Regions from separate parts of the Homo sapiens genome. Here region 1 is linked to region 2. Evidence: promoter capture Hi-C in human tissues and cell types (Jung and others, 2019). All regions are on one chromosome and are shown on one strand. Each heading gives the region's core, a stretch centred on a gene start or on the middle of the fragment in contact. The rest is flanking DNA. Distances are from core to core; before and after follow the strand shown. Region 1 holds the start of SIRT2 (sirtuin 2). Region 2 holds the start of ECH1 (enoyl-CoA hydratase 1).

Region 1 (6,114 bases), core at 3,006-5,505, 68 kb after region 2:
GATGTCCACAAGGGCAGGGACTTTGTCTGGGTGCCCAGCACTGAGAACAGGGTCTGGCTCCTGGCAGGAGCTCCAGGAGCTCCTCTACCTTGGAATGAATGCCTGCTTCAGGCTGGACCACGGCTGGGCCCTGCAATGGATTTCACCAAAATGCAGTTCTGACCAAGCCACCACCTCAGACAACTCCCTTCCCCGGATACTCACTGCTCTGCGTCCAAGTCTTTTTGAATAAGACCCTCCCTTCCGAACATACGACAATTTAAAAAATTGCTTTTTAAGACTGTGCAACTCCGGCTGGGCGTGGTGGCTCATGCCTGTAATCCCACCACTTTGGGAGGCTGAGGCAGGAAGGTTGCTTGATGCCAGGAGTTCAAGACCAGCCTGGGCAACACAGTGAGACTCTGTCTCTATTTAAAAAGAGAGAGAAAGGCTGAGCACGGTGGCTCACGCCTGTAATCCCAACACTTTGGGAGGCTGAGGTGGGTGGATCACGAGGTCAGGAGATCGAGACCATCCTGGCCAACATGATGAAACCCCGTGTCTAATAAAAATACAAAAAATTAGCCAGGCATGGTGGCACGTGTCTGTAGTCCCAGCTATTCAGGAGGCTGAGGCAGGAGAATCGCTTGAACCTGGGAGGTGGAGGTTGCAGTCAGCGAGATCACCCCACTGCACTCCAGCCTGGGTGACAGAGCGAGACTCCGTCTCAAAAAAAAAGAGAGAGAGAAAGAGAGAGTGAGAATGAGAGAGAGAGAGAGACAGAGAGAAAGAGAGATTGGACAACCTCTGCAAAAACCTTGATTATACTCATGTATACTTCAACAACATATAACTTGCGGCACTCACCTTGTAATTGCCCAAGCCCACCCTTATAAAGATAACCACTGTTAGCTAAGCTTAATGGAAATTACTCCAGTTTTCTCTGCATAAAACTAATATTTTTTACAGAAATAGGTCATAGTACAATACAACATCTTGAGTTTTCGGCAGAACAATATGCTACAGACCCACCTAATTTAAAAAATAATTTTTTAAAAAAGAGACGGCATCTTGCTATGTTGCCCAGGCTGGTCTCAAAACTCCTGGGCTCAAGTGATCCCCCTGCCTCCCAAAGTGCTGGGATTACAGGTGTGAGCCACCGTGCCCGGCCTCACCTCGTTTTTCAGAGCAGCTACATAGTATTGGATTGTATGGATGAACCATAGTTCATTTAACCCATCCACTGACAGCCATTTGGACTGTTTCCAGTTTTGCCCTGTGACGGACAATGCTGCATTTTACATCCTCGCCTCTCTCTCTTTGGGACTGAGGATCCTTTTTAACATTCAACCTTTTTCTCTGACAGTGGTCGTGCTTTGGGAGCCAGGCGAGTGAGTTGCCACAGCCTAACAGGAGGCTCTTATATCCTTAGCAAAGCTCCACTGTGCATTTGTGAGGTATTCTGATGCCCGCTTCTGCACCACCCCACGTCTGAAAGGCAATCTCAGGGGTGTGGGTGGGCTGGCACTCTTTCAGGCTGTACACAGTGAGGCTGTGTGGAAGGCCTGTGCCCAGCATGTGTCTGCAGCTTGGCCTAAGGGAGAGCCGGAGGTGCTGACGGGGGCCTTCAAGCTCCTATGAGACTGCCTGTCCACCTCTCCTGGCAGCCTCTGACAGGTGGCGTGCCCAGTGCTGGGGGACTCAAACCCTTCCCTGCTCCTGTAGCCGAGGGACGGGGGATAAGTGACTTAACAACTCTGCCTCAGATTCTGCATCTGTAAAATGGCCGTGATAGGCGTTTCTCTTCACAGGGATGCCAGGAAGATGAAATTGAGATGAGGCACGTTTGGCACTAAACAGTGGGCCCAGCTTTAGTAAGCCGTCAGTAAATGCTAACCACGACTATAACAAGCTGACCACCACCAGCCACCCAATTATGGAACACATCACACCCCTTCATGCCCCCCAGGTCTTTGCACAAGCGATACCTGTTGTGTGGATCACCATTTCTCACCTTGTCTAAGAAAATTCTAAGTCACTCTTCACTTATGCTGTGTCTGTATCTTGGTCTGACAGCTAGACCAGCCTGTGGATTCCTCCAGGGAATGGCCTGGCTAGAATCTTCTTTGACCCAGAAAATTTTCTCTGTGCTCCCACAGTACCCTGAGTTTCTTTACTTTTCTTCCTTTTTTTTTTTTTGAGACCGTGTTTTGCTCTGTCGCCCCGGTTGGGGTGCAGTGGCACAGTCAAGGCACACTACGGCCTTAACCTCCTGGGCTTAAGCAATCCTCCCCCAACTCAGCCTCCTGAGTAGCTGGCAATGCAGGCATGCACCACTACACATGGCTAATTTTTAAATATTTTGTAGAGGTGGGGGCCTCCCTATGTTGCCAAGACTGGTCTGGAACTCCTGGGCTCAAGCGATCCTCCTACCTCAGCCTCCCAAAGTACTGGGATTACAAGCATGAGCCACTGTGTCTGGCCCTGAGTTACTTTCTTTCTTTTTTACTTTTTAGAGAAAGGGTCTTGCTCTTTCACCCCGGCTGGAGTGCAGTGATGCAATCATAGCTCACTGCAGCCTCAAACTCCTGGGCTCAAGCGATCCTCGCGCCTCAGTCTCCTGAGTTATTGGAATTACAGGCATAAGCCACTGCATCTGGCCCCCTGAGTTACTTTCGTCATCACGCTGTGAGATCATTTTTTCCCATCACTTGTCCACGAGATCTGTGCGTTCCAAGACCAAATGGGATACCTGTCTCTTCCAGTCCCAGGACAAATGTGGTTCAGAAGGGATGGCAGGCAGTGGCAAGGAAGAAGGAAAGTTTGGGAGGACAGGCCTGGACTTGAGGCTGGAAACTCTTCTCTGACAATCCCCAGAATCTGCCTTTCCCCAGAAAGCTGCACTGGGTGGTGTGAGGGATTGGGGCAATGAGCCGAGGGCCCTGGGGTGACTGTTTCCCCTTTGCCACCTCCCCCCAGTGTGGGATGTGGAACAAGTCCGTCTCTCTCCTCCCCTCCACCCTTTCCCCCATCTCACCTGAGCCTCCTGCACCTTCCCTGCCTGGGTCTCCAGAGGGTGAGAGGCTGGGGGAGGGGAGCAGAGGTGGTTACAGTGGGGAGAACGATTAAGGGGGGAATAAAGGGGTTCAAATGGTCAGTGAGGGGGCAAGAACACCCACCAACCTAGTTACACTGGGATGGGATGGTGGTAAAAATGGAGCAGAGGGAGGGAGGGGACGGAGAAAAGATCTTATCTACATGCAAAGTGATGCCGGGAGAGGTGATTAGTGAGGGGCAGAGAGGCTGGAGAGGAAGATTTAGGGGGACAGGGAGAAAGTAGGGGCTTTTGCCCAGGCTGGTCTTGAACTCCTGGGCTCAAGCGATCCAACCACCTTGGCCTCCCAAAGTACTGGGATTACAAGCATGAGCCATTGTTTCTGGCCCTGACTTACTTTCTTTCTTTTTTACTTTTTAGAGAAAGGGTCTCGCTCATGTCACCCAGGTTGGAGTGCAATAGTGCGATCATAGCTCACTGCAGCCTCAAATTCCTGGGCTCAAGCGATCCTCCTCCTCCTACCTAGGGGATTCAGGGCATGAAGGAACACTCAGGAGGAGTTAGGAAGGACACGACAGTGTGTGAGTGTGTGTGCGGGGAGGGTTAGATTTACAAGGCAGAGGGAAGTTTAGAAAGGAAAAGAGAAGGGAAGAGACGCTTTGGCTGGGAGGCAGGTTTAGGAGGGAGGTGCAGTGGTGCAGTGGAGGCGGTAGGTTTAGGAGAGGCGCGGAACAAGGGGAAGCCATAGGAGGGGTCAGCAGGGGTCCCTCAGCATCCTCTGGTTGCCTCTAACAATCAGGTACCCATAGCAAGCGGGACCGGGGCAACTTATGTTCTTTGCAGCGAGGGACCTTAGCAACCAAGGTGCGAGAAACACGCGATCATTGGCAACTTGGCAAGTGGATGTGGTAAACGAACCCTGAACACACTGCGACCCAGAAACCCACCAGCCTAGCGATACAGATCGCTAAGCAACAGCCCTCAGAATCCCACTCCCCGAAGCGCTCCCTACTTCCCGCCCCACCGCGGCCACCCTTGGGCCCCGGGGCCTGCAGCATTCAGCCAGGCCCCGGCGCGGCCCGACCCTCCTACCCGGATCCCCGACTCACGGTCTGGCTCTGCCATGGGCGCGGTGCTGAAGCCCTTGAGGCTGTCACCGACCGCTCTGTCCCGTCACCAACCACTGTGTCCCGTCACCGACTGCTCTGTCCTGTCACCGACTGCTCTGTCCCGTGACGGCACCAGAAATGGGAGTGGCCGTGATAGGGCACAGAACTACAACTCTCAGCAGACATTGCGGCCGCAGACGCGCTTTCGTACAACACCCAGAGCGCCCCAGTTAGGTAAGAAAGCGCGCGAGGACCGGACTACGAGTCCCAGAAGGCGTGGCGTCAGCAGCCATGTTGGTAAAGGGCGCCCGGAAAATGTGGGAACGGCTAGAGAGTTGTAGTCCTCCCGAATACTCTGATTGGTCAGGATGCAGTACGAGGGCGGGGTGTGAGCGATTCAGCATATTATCATTGGGTGAATCAGGGGGCGTGGTGGGGAATTTCCCGCAGGGCGGAAGCTCCAGAACTCCCGGCAAAGCCCAGCTACAGGCGGGCGACTGCGGGGGGCCCCTGAGGCGGCGGGGGCCATGGCTGGGGTCGCGTGCTTGGGAAAAGCTGCCGACGCAGATGAATGGTGCGACAGCGGCCTGGGCTCCCTGGGTCCGGACGCAGCGGCCCCCGGAGGACCTGGGTTGGGCGCGGAGTTGGGCCCGGGGCTGTCGTGGGCTCCCCTCGTCTTCGGCTACGTCACTGAGGATGGGGACACGTGAGTGAACCTTAGGCTGCCAAACGGAGCCCTAGGACCCGGCGTCACATTCCTCATTAATCTCTGATCCCTGAGGCTTCCTAACCTCATACTCCTAAATCTGACTTCCGATGCTGAACTTCCTGACCTCTAACCCCCGAGTCCTAACTTTTAACAAAACCAATCTTCTATCTAGCTATGATCCTAACCCAATCATTTCTTACCTTCTTTTCTTGAACTATGATTCTCAGCTCCTGGAATCCACATTGTATCCACTGATACCCAAACCTGACTCCAGTCCTGAGACTTCTGTTAGAACTGTGGCTTCTCCTGACTTCTAACCTCCAAATATGATCTTTGATTCTTAGTTCCCGATTTGAGCCCTAGAGTTTGATTTCCGAAATTAATACTTGGTCCCTGACTCTAAGATCCTGTCTTCTGAGCAGTGTTCTTCAAATCTTAAATTCAAAGAGAGAGAATGTAAGCTCTTCTATGTTGAATTCCTAATTAAAGTAAAAAAATAGGAAAATTAAAAAAAAGAATGTTAGCTCCATGAGACCAAGGATTCATCTGTTAAACAAATATTCTTTACACATTACCACGTTCCAGGCTCCGTTTAGGTGCTAGTGATAAAGGCAGTGAAGAAAACAAACAAAAACTTAAGCCCTTGTGGAGCATACATTTTAGTGGAGCTAAATAAACAGATTGATAAGACCACAAGGAAGGAAAGAAATGGAAAGACAGGAAGAAACAAAGAAAGACACGCAGAAAGAAAGAAACATAGAAAGTAAGAAAAGGAAATAAAGTCAGAGGTAGTTAAGTACTTTGGAGAAAAATAAAGCAGGAAAATGAGGCAATAGATAAACAAGATAAGAGCATTTCAAGGAGAAGGAACTGCAGTTGCAAAGGCCCAGATGAGGGATTGTACTGGGTTTTTTGTCTGTTGTGTTTACTGCTGTATGCCCAGTGATGCAAGCAGGGCCTGATCCAGGAGGCACTGAATATTGATCTCAACCAGCTTTATAGTCTCGTTAATTTTCATTAAATTTCATTAATTAATTTTGGTTTCATTAATTTTTTTTTACTTTCTATTCAATTGGTCTCTGTTCTGACTTTTTTTTTTGAAACGAAGTCTCACTCTGTCGCCCAGGCTGGAGTGCAGTGGCATGATCATGGCTTACTATAGCCACAACCTCCTGGCTCAAGTGATCCTTGCACCTCAGCCTCCTGAGTAGCTGGGACCACAGGCACATGCCACCATGCCTGGCAAATTTTTAAATTTTTTT
Region 2 (5,604 bases), core at 287-2,786:
GGTCAATCCAAAGATCCAACTGACCTGTAACTGGAAATCAATTAGTGAGTTGAATAGTTGCACGAAAGCATGTTATTATATTATATGCTGACACAGCTATAGGCTGAGAGGTTAAGCATGTTGTTCATGGCCACAGATCCAGGATGGAAACCTAGACTTCAGAGCCTATGATCCCATCGTGTTCTGTCAGACTAATACTTATATTTGAATGTTTTAAAGTAGGCCTTTTTTTAAAAAAATGATAGGGCTGGCCATGGTGGCACCTGCCTGTAATCCCAGCATTTTGGCAGGCTGAGGTGGGAGAATCGCTTGACCTCAGGTATTTGAGGTTACAGTGATTTATGATTAGGCAACTGTACTCCAGCCTGGGTGACAGAGAAAGATATTGTCTCCAAAAAAAAAAAAAAAAACACACAGATAAAAGTGTGAGTTAGGGGCCAGGAGCAATGGTTCAGGCCTATAATCCCAGCACTTTGGGAGGCTGAGGCAGGCAGATCATAACGTCAGGAGATGGAGACCATCCTGGCCAATATGGTGAAACCCCGTCTCTACTAAAAATACAAAAATTAGCTGGGTGTGGTGGCCCACGCCTGTAGTCCCAGACAGAAGAATTGCTTGAACCCGGGAGGTGGAGGTTGCAGTGAGCTGAGATTGCGCTACTGCACTCCAGCGTGGCAACAGAGCAAGACCCCGTCTCAAAAAAAAAAAAAAAAAGTGTGTAAGTCAGAAGCTGCTTAAAACCCTAATTCAGAAGCACTGCTCCACTGTCTATTGCCAGGAGCTAGGAAGGCTGGCAGGGTGTGTGAAGAGCGTCTGGTACCTGCAGTGAACATTTTTCCTGCACCAGAGATCACCACCGCCCGACAGTCAGCGTCTCTCGAAATCTTGTTGAAGCACTCTACCATCTCTCTGTGAAGCAACGAGTGAAGGGTTACAAATGGGGCGGGAATACCCTGCCCTCATGTCCATCTTCCCACAACGTTCCACTTTCACCCAGTCCCGCAGCCCCGCCTCCCCCCGCAGGCAGGCCTCCAGGATCTGCAGGTCAGACCTCCAGAAGACCTTGTTCATGGCATTCCTCTTGTTGGGCCGGTTGAGCTGGACATGCAGAACATGTTTCTGCGCAGACGTCACACGAAGGGACTCATAGCTGTGGTCTGGGGCTTCACCGAGGGCTACTCCGGAAGCCTCCTCTTGTGCAGAGGAGCCAGTGAGGCGAAGGCTAATACTGAGTCCCGGGTAGTTGGAGCCTGTCAGTCCTGGGGAGAAAGGAACAGCCTTTGATGACCCCAGACTGCAAGACACAGGCCTATCGAATTAGGGAGTCCTTCAAAAGGGAGCACACGCACCCCTGAATTTAGGGGACTCGGGCCCTTCGTGACCCCGGATAGCCCTCCCCGTCCTACATCTGCTATAACAGCACGACAGCGCGACGCACCCCCATAAGGCAAGAGGTGACTCACGCCGGGTCAGTAGGTCGCGGAGTCTGCGAGAAGCCACTATCCCCGCCGCCATCGCCGCCGCCTTCGTCTACTGCGTTCGGACGGAGTAACGTGCCCGTTAGCGGAGGGGGCGGGCACAGAAGGCCGCCATGTTGAGCGAGGGCACCGATGCCGCAACCTGACAGGCAATGACGCCGTTCTTTCCGCCATCTTTACTAAGGGCAGTCGATTTCCGGTTGCCTTACATAGAGCCAGGCTCAGAAATGGACCCTTTGCCCCAGTGGGAACCTGGCCAAAGAAAATAGCTCCTGCAATGGCGTGAACCTGGGAGGCGGAGTTTGCAGTGAGCCGAGATCGCGCCATTGCTCTCCAGCCTGGCGACCGAGCGACACTCCGTCTTAAAAAAAACAAAACAAACAAACAAAAAAAAAAACAGAAAAGCAAACAGCTCCCGCTAAAGTTCATCACACAGCTGTTTCATAATGGTGGAATAATAGGCGACAGCTGAAATGTCCAAGGACATAATTGCAGCAGAGCTTGTAATCATGCATGTATATATCATGTTAACTAAAAATAAAAGAAAACTTGCAGTACTGTGAGTTTACTCAGGTAAAGGAATGAGTACAGACGGGCCAACATTAAGCGCTGACTGTATAATATGAACTCCCACCAGGAGGTCGTACTATTTCCTACTATATGCAGAGGAAACTGGCCCAGGCACGGGAAGACACTAGGTTCAAGGTCGGTGGGCTTCAGAAGGGCTAAAGCAGGATTACCTGGCACCAGAGTTCATGTTCTTAGCCTGGCGCAGTGGCTCACGCCTGTAATACAAGCACTTTGGGAGGCCGAGGCAGGCGGATCACCTGAGGTCAGGAGTTCAACAGCAGCCTGGTCAACATGGCGAAACCCCGTCTCTACTAAAAATACAAAAATTAGCCGGGTGCGGTGTCCGGCACCTGTAATCCTAGCGGGAAGAGAATGGCTTGAGCCCAGGAGGCGGAGGTTGCAATGAGCAGAGATGGCACCACTGTACCCCAGCCTGGGCGACAGAGCAAGATCTCAAAAAAAAAAAAAAGAAGAAAAAAAAGTTCATGTTCTTAAAAAAAACAAACAAAACAAAAAAACCGAAATTCCCTTGGGAAAAGCCAGCTACCAAAAGGCATAAAAAGTACTGTAAAACTGCTGGCCGGGCGCGGTGGCTCACGCCTGTAATCCCAGCACTTTGGGAGGCCGTGGCGGGCAGATCACGAGGTCAGGAGATCGACCTCCTGACCTAGCTAACACAGTGAAACCCCGTCCCTACTAAAAAAATACAAAAACTTAGCGGGCATGGTGGCGGGCGTCTGTAGCCCCAGCTACTGGGGAGGCTGAGGCTGGAGAATGGCGTGAACCCCGGAGGCGGAGCTCGCAGGGAGCCGAGATGGCGCCACTGCACTCCAGCCTGGGGACAGAGCGAAACTCCATCTCAAAAAAATAAAAAAAAAAAGTACTGTAAAACTGCTTAAGTATGCTTTTTGGGGAGACATTGAGCAAGGCGGTGAACAGATGTCTCTGGGCCAGTGAGATTGAAGGAAGTATCTTTCCTTAATGAACCTGTCTCCTGTGTGTTTTCACAGACTAGAAAAGCAGGCTCTTTTGAAAGACAGAACCATTAACTACCCATCAACAGTAGACTGTTTATACCATAGAAAACTCTGAAACCTCTATGCAAAAATAAAAATGTGTGAGAAAAAAATGTGAAGATGTAATAGAACATTTAGTATGATCCTTTGTTCCTTTGGTGTAAGAAAGTATAGCTGGGCTGGGTGCGGTGGCTCAGGTCTGTAATCCCAGCACTTTAGGAGGCCCAGGCAGGCAGATCACCTCAGGTCAGGAGTTTGAGACCAGCATGGCCAACATGGTGAAACCCAATCTCTATTAAAAATATAAAAATTAGCCAGGCGTGTTGGCTCATGCCTCTAATCCCAGCACTTTGGGAGGCCAAGGCGGGTGGATCACAAGGTGAGAAGATCGAGACCATCCTGGCTAACACGGTGAAACCCCATCTCTACTAAAAATACCAAAAATTAGCCGGGCGTGGTGGCGGGCGCCTGTAGTCCCAGCTATTCGGGAGGCTGAGGCAGGAGAATGGCGTGAACCCAGGAGGCGGAGCTTGCACTGATGTGAGATCACGCCACTGCACTCCAGCCTGGGCCACAGAGCAAGACTCTGTCTAAAAAAAAAAAAAAATTAGCGGGGCGTGGTGGCAGGTGCCTGTAATCCCAGCTACTTGGGAGGCTGAGGCAGGAGAATTGCTTCAACCCAGGAGGCAGAGTTTGCAGTGAGCTGACCTCATGCCACTGCACTCCAGCACTTCAGCCTGGGTGACAGAGTGAGACAATGTCTCAAAAAAAAGAGTGTAGCTGGACCTGCACAGAATATGGTGTATGTATGTAATATCTCTGGAAGGAGACTCAAACTGGTAACAGGAAATGAAATTGGATGCTAGGAGACAAACTGGTAAAATTCACTTTTTATCACCTTGACTGGCTTAAAAACAATAAACCCTAGTTGATTTTATTTATGGCTGCAAGATGACTGTAGTTTTTCCTTGTCTAAAGATTGTTTGAAACTTCCCATAGTGAAGCAAAACTTGTTCATCTGCCAAATGATGCTTTTGTGATGTCATTAAATGTTAAAAATGTAAGGCCGGGCGCAGTGGCTCATGCCTGTATCATAGCTACTTTGGGAGGCCGAGGCCAGTGGATCTCAGGAGTTCGAGACCAGCCTAGCCAATATGGTGAAACCCCATCTCTACTAAAAATACAAAAATCAGCCAGGCATGGTGGCACATGCCTGTAATCCCAGCTACTTGGGAGGCTGAGGCAGGAGAATTGCTTGAACCAGGAGGCAGAGGTTGCAGTGAGCCAAGATTATGCCATTGCACTCCAGCCTGGGTGACAGAGCAAGACTCCATCTCAAAAAAGAAAATTTTATTCACAGTAAATTCCCCAGAGTGGGCTATTCTCAAGCACACATGCATAAACTTCAAGGTTTGTGACCTGCTCCTCTGCAGGTCACCTCTTCCCTCCAGTAGGAGTCAAAATCCTTAAACCAGGATCCTTCCGGGTGGTACCCGCCACCGCAAGGCATCTTCACAGATTTGCATCTGCAAGTGGGAAGCTATCTACCGTATGATGCAATTATATAGATCCTTTAAGTTTTGAGACATGGTCTCGCCCTTTCGCCCAGGATGGAGTATAGTGGTGCCATCACAGCTCACAGCTCAAGTGATCCTCCTGCTTCAGCCCCCATGAGTAGCTGGGACTATAGGCACAGTGTGTGCCACCATGCCCACATCATTTTTCTATATATTTTTTTCTCGAGACGGAGTTTCACTCTCGTCACTCAGGCTGGAGTGCAATGGCACAATCTCGGCTCACTGCAACCTCTGCCTCCTGGGTTCCAGCGATTCTCCTGCCTCAGCCTCCTGAGTAGCTGTGACTACAGGAACGTGCCACCATGCCCGGCTAATTTTTATTTTTTTAGTAGAGACAGGGTTTCACCATGTTGGCCAGGCTGGTCTCGAACTCCTGACCGTAAGTGTTCCGCTCACCTCGGCCTCCCAAAGTGCTGGGATTACAGGCGTGAGCCACCATGCCCGGCCCACTTTCTTATTTTTTGTAGACAGGGTTTTGCCATGTTGCCCAGGTCTCAAAACTCCCGGCCTTAAGTGATCTGCCTGCCTTGGCTTCCCAAAGTGCTGGGATTACAGGCATGGGCCACTACATCCAGCTATATATATCCTTTAACCCAGCAATTCCACTGGCAGGAATTTATCTCCTGATCAGTATCAGGGAAGCTGGCCAAGATACTTGTGTAGATACGTGTTACAGCGCTGTTTGCAATAGCAAAAATAGACCTGGAAACTACCCTTTGGGACCAGGTTAAATCATGACACATCCACACAATGATACTGCAAGGGTAAAGACAAGTCACTCTGAAATGATACAGAACACAAAGGTTTTGGGTTTTTTTGACACCCTGTTGCCCAGGCTGGGGTGCAATGACCCCATCACAGTTCACTGCAGCATCACCCTCCAGGGTTGGGGTGATCCACCTCAGCCTGCTAGGTAGCTGGGACTACTGGCATGCGCCACTATGCCCGGCTGATTTTTGTATT

What was found. The method cuts DNA at HindIII sites, captures the fragments that hold promoters and counts their contacts. A contact is called where the count stands out against the background at its distance.
Region 1: a contact is called between the fragment with the promoter of SIRT2 here and the fragment with the promoter of ECH1 in region 2, in 2 of the 25 tissues and cell types used here (dorsolateral prefrontal cortex and spleen).

What each region holds. Positions count from the first base shown.
Region 1 is chr19:38,895,363-38,901,476 of GRCh38, forward strand. It overlaps SIRT2 (sirtuin 2), which reads right to left and starts at 4,256. Exons shown (of 16, transcript NM_012237.4): 1 at 4,144-4,256; 2 at 3,017-3,063. The coding sequence starts at 4,159. It overlaps NFKBIB (NFKB inhibitor beta), which reads left to right and starts at 4,607. Exons shown (of 6, transcript NM_002503.5): 1 at 4,607-4,849. The coding sequence starts at 4,671. The HindIII fragment of the contact is 18,718 bases long and covers 1-6,114 here.
Region 2 is chr19:38,830,258-38,835,861 of GRCh38, forward strand. ECH1 (enoyl-CoA hydratase 1) reads right to left here and starts at 1,537. Exons shown (of 10, transcript NM_001398.3): 1 at 1,464-1,537; 2 at 1,052-1,259; 3 at 821-909. The coding sequence starts at 1,515. All of the region lies in intron 1 of LOC124904712 (a long non-coding RNA gene), which reads left to right. RefSeq lists an enhancer at 1,436-1,585. The HindIII fragment of the contact is 9,746 bases long and covers 1,432-5,604 here.